Regions from separate parts of the Homo sapiens genome. Here region 1 is linked to region 2. Evidence: promoter capture Hi-C in 16 types of primary human blood cells and fetal thymus (Javierre and others, 2016). All regions are on one chromosome and are shown on one strand. The core of a region is centred on a gene start or on the middle of the fragment in contact, and the rest is flanking DNA. Distances in the headings are between cores, read along the strand shown.

The links. The method cuts DNA at HindIII sites, captures the fragments that hold promoters and counts their contacts. A CHiCAGO score of 5 or more calls a contact.
Region 1: a fragment that was not itself captured here is called in contact with the fragment with the promoter of TSPAN9 in region 2 in 1 of 17 cell types (endothelial precursors); the score reaches 5.1 in endothelial precursors.

The regions. Positions count from the first base shown.
Region 1 is chr12:3,770,483-3,773,513 of GRCh38, forward strand. No RefSeq gene overlaps it. Among named protein-coding and RNA genes, the nearest start is that of CRACR2A, 19 kb to the left of the region's middle. The HindIII fragment of the contact is 3,658 bases long and covers 1-3,031 here.
Region 2 is chr12:3,075,737-3,078,855 of GRCh38, forward strand. TSPAN9 (tetraspanin 9) reads left to right here and starts at 1,643. Exons shown (of 9, transcript NM_006675.5): 1 at 1,643-1,717. RefSeq lists silencers at 1,149-1,198, 1,249-1,748. The HindIII fragment of the contact is 2,240 bases long and covers 197-2,436 here.

The DNA.
Region 1 (3,031 bases), core at 50-2,549, 690 kb after region 2:
ACATGAAAAGGCACCCAGCATCATTAGTCATAAGGAAATGCAAACTAAAATCATAATGTGGGTTGGGCGCGGTGGCTCACGCCTGTAATCCCAGCACTTTGGGAGGTCAAGGCAGGTGGATCATGAGGTCAGGAGATCGAGACCATCCTGGCTAACATGGTGAAACCCCGTCTCTACTAAAAATACAAAAAATTAGCCGGGTGTGGTGGCAGGTGCCTGTAGTCCCAGCTACTCGGGAGGCTAAGGCAGGAGAATGGCATGAGCCCGGGAGGCGGAGCTTGCAGTGAGCTGAGATCGCACCACTGCACTCCAGCCTGGGGGACAGAACGAGACTCTATCTCAAAAAAAAAAACATAATGTGATACTCTTATATGCTCAGTAGAGTGCTATATTCAAAGACAGGTAATACTAAGTATTAGTGAGGGTGTGGAGAAACTGGAATGCTTGCATGTTCCTGGAAGAAATGAAAATGGTACAGCTACTTTGGAAAATTCTTTGGTTCTTTCTTAAGTTAAACAAAAACTTACCCAAGACTCAGTGGCTTCACTCTGAGGAATCTATCCAAGAGAAATGAAAACATCTCCATACAATGACTCATAATTGAATGTGCATAGCAGCATTATTTGTACTAGCCAAAACCTGGAAAAAATCCAAATGTCTACCAGTTGGTGAGTGGATAAACCCAATATGGTATACTCATTCAATGGAATACTACTCAGCAATACGAAGGAGTAAAATACTGGTACATATTACAACATGAATGAACCTAATAAAAAGTATGCCTAAAAAAGACAGATGTAGGCCAGGCGCAGTGGCTCACGCCTGTAATCTCAGCACTTTGGGAGGCTGAGGCAGGCGGATCACGAGGTCATGAGATCAAGACCATCCTGGCTAACACGGTGAACCCAGTCTCTACTAAAAAAAAATACCAAAAAATTAGCCAGGCGTGGTGGCGGGCGCCTGCAGTCCCAGCTACTCTGGAGGCTGAGGCAGGAGAATGGTGTAAATCCAGGAGGTGGGGCTTGCAGTGAGCCGAGATCGTGCCACTGCACTGCAGCCTGGGCGACAGAGCGAAACTCTGTCTCAAAAAAAAAAAAGGAAGAGAGATGCAAAGAGTATATATTAGATGATTTCGTTTATAGTAAGTGTCCAGAAGAGGCAAATTATAGAGACAGAAAGCAGATTAATGATTATCCTGGGGAGGTGGGGTAGAAGTTGGTTTGGGCTGCAAATGAGCTTAATAAAATGTTTAGGATTATGACAATGTAATAAAACTGGATTGTGATGATGGTCATACAACTCTATACCTTTATTAAAAATCATTAAGTTGTATACTTGCAATGGGTATAAGGTATATAAATGACACCTCAAAAAGGCTGTGAAAACAAAAAAAAACACACAAAAACAAGACAAAACAAAGCAACCTGACTCTCAATACTGACTCAGCAATGGAGGTGTGAACTCTGGACATGCAATGACCAGCTCCTCAACTGTGTAGGTGACATCTTGTTGTGACATAAATTTTCTCTCCTTCCTTCTGACCTACACTGATTGCATGTAGCCCCAGTCAAAGCCAACCCTGCTCGGGCCATGCCCTGTCTAGCTATCCAATGTCCCTGTGCACTCTCAGAGTTTGCTGCCAGGATCTCTGGGACAGTGTGCCAGGTTTCCAGCCACCTGCTCAGTACTTTTCAGCATCACTAAAATGGAGTTATTTTTGATACCAGTAATGGCAGAAATCCAACTAAAATGAATTTTTATCTACAATCTTGGCCTTTACCAAAAAAGAACTGAAACACTGCACACACATATTGCTATCCCCATTTTCCCAGCATATAGTACCTGAGGAGAGAATTCTGGATGACACTTTCTGCCCTACCAAGAATACCTACCAAAATTCTAAAACATATTTGCTGTCTGTCCCCTAGGCATGAGTGTGTGTGTTTTGAGAAAGCTAGGTGGAGGATGAGGGGTGAAGATGTAGTAATTTGGTGTTTGAGCTATTGAGTTTAATTGAGTGATACATCTGTGCAGAAACGGAATGTTGACGTCATCACTTCCTCTGCCAACTTTGTTTGCTGTTTTTGTTTTTTTAAACGAAATAGATTTCTTTGGGGCTGCAGCTGGCTGCCTCCAAAGAGGGATCAAACCAGCTCACTTCCTGCTCATGCTCTTCTCTTTTACTCGGGACCCAGTCACCAGCTGAGTTTTTCAGGATTCTAAAATTCCTTAACTACTCATTTCATGTTTCCTTAACTACTCATTATGTGATTCTCATTCATTTCCCAACAGATGTTTGTTGAGCTCCTATTAAGTGCAAAAGGCTGTCTTAGAGGCTGTGGGGGATACAGAGATTAAAAAGAATGACCCTGTCCTCAGAGAGTTTACAGTCTAACTAAAGCAGGAGGTAGGGAAGGTGAGTATACAATAACTAAGCTATAAGGTAAGGTGATAACAGACAGACAAACTGAGATATCAGAGTTTCGAGGAAGGAGAGAGGCCTTTTAGCTAGAACGATCAGGAAAGCCTTTCTGGAGAAGGCGTGATTTGAATCAGATCTTAGGGATGGATATAATTTTGATTGACAGATTGCAGGAATGTGAGAAATATAGATGGAAGGAAATAACATGTGCCTGGAGAAAGAAGTTTTTAGAAATGGAAACGCACAAGGTGAATTTGAGAGAAAAATAATATTATTTTGCTAAAATACAGAAATTGGATTGAGAAGCAGAAGCAGATAAGTCTATAAATACATGCTGGAGTAAATTATGTAGACACTGAATGCCAGTTATAACTTGGACTTATCTCCAGACAGCCAGTGTTAACCTTTCCTTGACTCAAAAGGCATTTAAATAATAGGGACACAGACTCAGGCTCTATCTTGGCAAGATCCATAAGTTACACATGGAGAACCTTCCAGTGTGATCACAAGAATATAAATGGTTGTACTGCATGACCTTTGGGCCCCATTCTGTCCTGAGACTAAAGTTTAGGGGCTGTGAACAGAAAATGAACTCTCTCTTTTGGTGTC
Region 2 (3,119 bases), core at 393-2,892:
GGAGAATATTTTCCTTGTGGGGAAAGGGAGATCAGAAGGAAATGGGTTATGGGTTTAGTCTAATAGACAAAAACAAGGTTGCATGTGTGTGACGGAAAGGGGCCCAGAAGATGAGTGGAAACTTCCAGTCTAATTAGCAGAAAGCAAAAGTGACCCTAGTGATTATAGCCAGGTTTTAAAAACTTGTCCCCAGTCAAGCTTAGTGCAATGGTAGGGCACGTGGGAAGCACAGCATACAGTTTCTTTAAAATTTAAAAAAATTTCACTTTTAAAGACAGGGTCTCCCTCTACTGCCCAGGCTGGAGTACAGTGGCATGATCCTAGTTTACTGCAGCCTCCAACGCCTGAGCCTCAGCCTCCGGAGCAGCTGGGACTACAGGGGTGTGCCACCACACCCGGTTAATTAAAACATTTTTTTTTTGAGATGGGGTTTCCCTATGTTGCCCAGGCTGTTCTTGAATTCCTGAGTTCCTGAGCTCAAGCAATCCTTCCACCTGGGCCCCCCAAAGTCCTGGGATTACACGCGTGAGCCACCACACCTGGCCTAGAAGACATTTTTGATGACAGTAATGATGAGAAGAGATGGCGTTTTAGTGCTCTTTGGAAACAAGTTTAGGCCTTCTAGCTTTAAGAATCCGGGCCTATAATCCCAGCACTTTGGGAGGCAGAGGCAGGAGGATGGCTTGAGCCCGGGAGTTTGAGACCAGCTTGGGCCCAGGGAGACCACCGTCTGTACAAAAAAAATCAAAAACTTCGCCGGACGTGGTGGTGCGCGCCTACAGTCCCAACTACTCTGGAGGCTGAGGCGGGATCACTTGAGCCCGGGAAGTCGAGGCTGCAGTGAGCCGTGATCGCACCACTGCACTCCTGCCTGGGCAACAGAGTGAGTCCTTGTCTCAAGAAAAAACAAAACAAAACAAAAAGCAAAAAACACATAAAATCCAGGCCTGAAAAAGCGCCCGGGCCAGACATGCCTAGCTGGAGTTTCTCCTGCCTTAGCGCACCCCTCAGGCACACGGTGCCCTGTAGTCGCCCTTGGAGGCCGCCAGCTCCTGGGGAGGCATGGCCCTTTCTGCGGGAGGTGTCTCAGGCAGGCTCCAACACACACCCGCGCTGTCAGCATCTCGCACAGTCCGCCCGAAACACCAGGGAAGGGGTTCGTAGGTGTGGGGGTGGGGTGGCGAGGCCAGGCAGCCTGGCGCGAGGGAGAGAGCCGAGGCCTGGGCCAGGAAGGCCCTTGGGTGCCGTGTGGGCGCAGAGCCCAGGAGAGCGCACTGCCAGGCCCGGACCTCCCCGCCCCTACCCCGGGAAGAGGCCCGTTCGCCGCAGGGGGAAGGCGGGATCATAGCACCTCGGAGGAGCGGCCGGTCCGGGCATGCGGGCGGCGGGGCGGGGAGGGAGGCTTCCGGAACCCCGAGAGAGCACCCGTGCCTCGCGGGCCCCGTGCCCCGTCCCCGGGCTCCCCTTCCTCTAACGCAGGGGACCCAGCCCGGGGCAGTGCCGGGCACTGGCGCTGGCGCCCCGCTCAGCCCTGCGATCCTTCTCCGCCCCGCCCCTCCCCGCTCCGCCCCGCCCCTCCCCGCTCCGCCCCCGGGCCGCCCCGCCCCGCAGGCTCGCCATTCCCGGGCAGGCCCCGCCCCCTGTTTCCGCTGGCGGCGGCGGCGGCGGCGGTGCCGGAGCGCGAGCAGAGCGGAGACCCCCAGGTCCTGCGGGCGCGGTGAGTGCGGCCCGGGCGGCGGGCGGCGAGGCGGGTCTCGAGAGCGTGCGGAGTCGCGCGGCCTTGAGCCGGCGCCGGGCGGGCTGGGCACCCCCAGGCCGAGACCCGAGAAGGGGGAGCGGCCGGGGGCGCCCACGGGAGGCAGTGTGGGCAGGGCGGCGGTGGGACGAGAGGACGAGGAACAGAGTAGGCGCCGTGCGGGAAGCGGGCCGGGAAGGGGAGGGTGGGTGCGGGGCCCGGGCACCGAGCGAAGTGGGGTCCTCCAGGGGATGGCTCCGAGGAAGACCGTTTCAGAAAGGGAGTAACCCGGGGCCGGCAAGGGTTTCCGACTGTGTGACCCCGTGCACCGCTTGGGACAGTCCATACAAGGACCCCAGAGAGGGCCAGGGGGCCTTCGGGCAGGGCTGGGATATGGCCTGCAGCCCCCCGGCACCCGCGACCGCTCCCTGGGCCACTGCTGGAAGATCAGCACTCCGAGTGACAGGACTCTGGCACATCCCGAAGTTGGAGATCTAGCCCATCTGTGCATTCAAGTTTGGGACTTCAAAAAACTTTCTTGTGGTTTTTAAAAAAAGATCCAAACAAGAAACCGGCTTGTTGTTGTAAGAGCAATATTTGTACTTGTACATCTTGGAACTGGAGTCTTGGATCTCCTCCCTCTTTGAAAAATATACGAGTCACTGCTTCATCTTCCCCCAAATGCCTGTTTTGTCTGGGGAAGCTTGGGCTAGTATGGGATCCCCTGAGCTACCTTTTTCTCGCATCACCAAAACGGGGGGTAAGAAGGCAGGGGCTTACCTGCCTTACCTGGTAACTCTTAGTTCAGAGACCCAGTCTCTCATTATGTGCGCGTGCCCTTCTGACCTGCAGCTGTCCTTTTCCCTGGGGTGACTCAGGTATTTCCTCCTCCAGGAAGCTTTCCTGGACTAGTGGAGAAAACTGAAGACTCATGCGAGGATCCCTATATATACCTGCCAGCTCCCTTCTCTTTACTGAAAATAGCCACAGAGAATGTTGAATATATGCTTTGCTATAGAGATACGCAGCCAGCTTGCCATCATAAGTAATGGGGAGGGGAGGAGAGGGATTATGGATAATTTCAAACAATAGCCTGGACAAATCATTTATATTTAGCTAAGGAATGCAGCCAGAGAGGCAGACAATTACACCGGCTTCCTACCCTCGGCTTGGTCCTGGCATGGCTGATGCAGCTGGGCTGTGGGTTGGAGGGAGAGGATTGGGGTAGATAAAACTTGAAGTGTAATTCAGTTCTACTCTCACTCACTGAAGACGCCCTGTGTGCAAGTCCCTGAACAGGTGAGAGTAGGATTTTTTTTTTTTTGGTCTGGTTTAATCAGATTTTAATATTCTGGCAGAGCTTTTTAAACCTATGAACAGATAT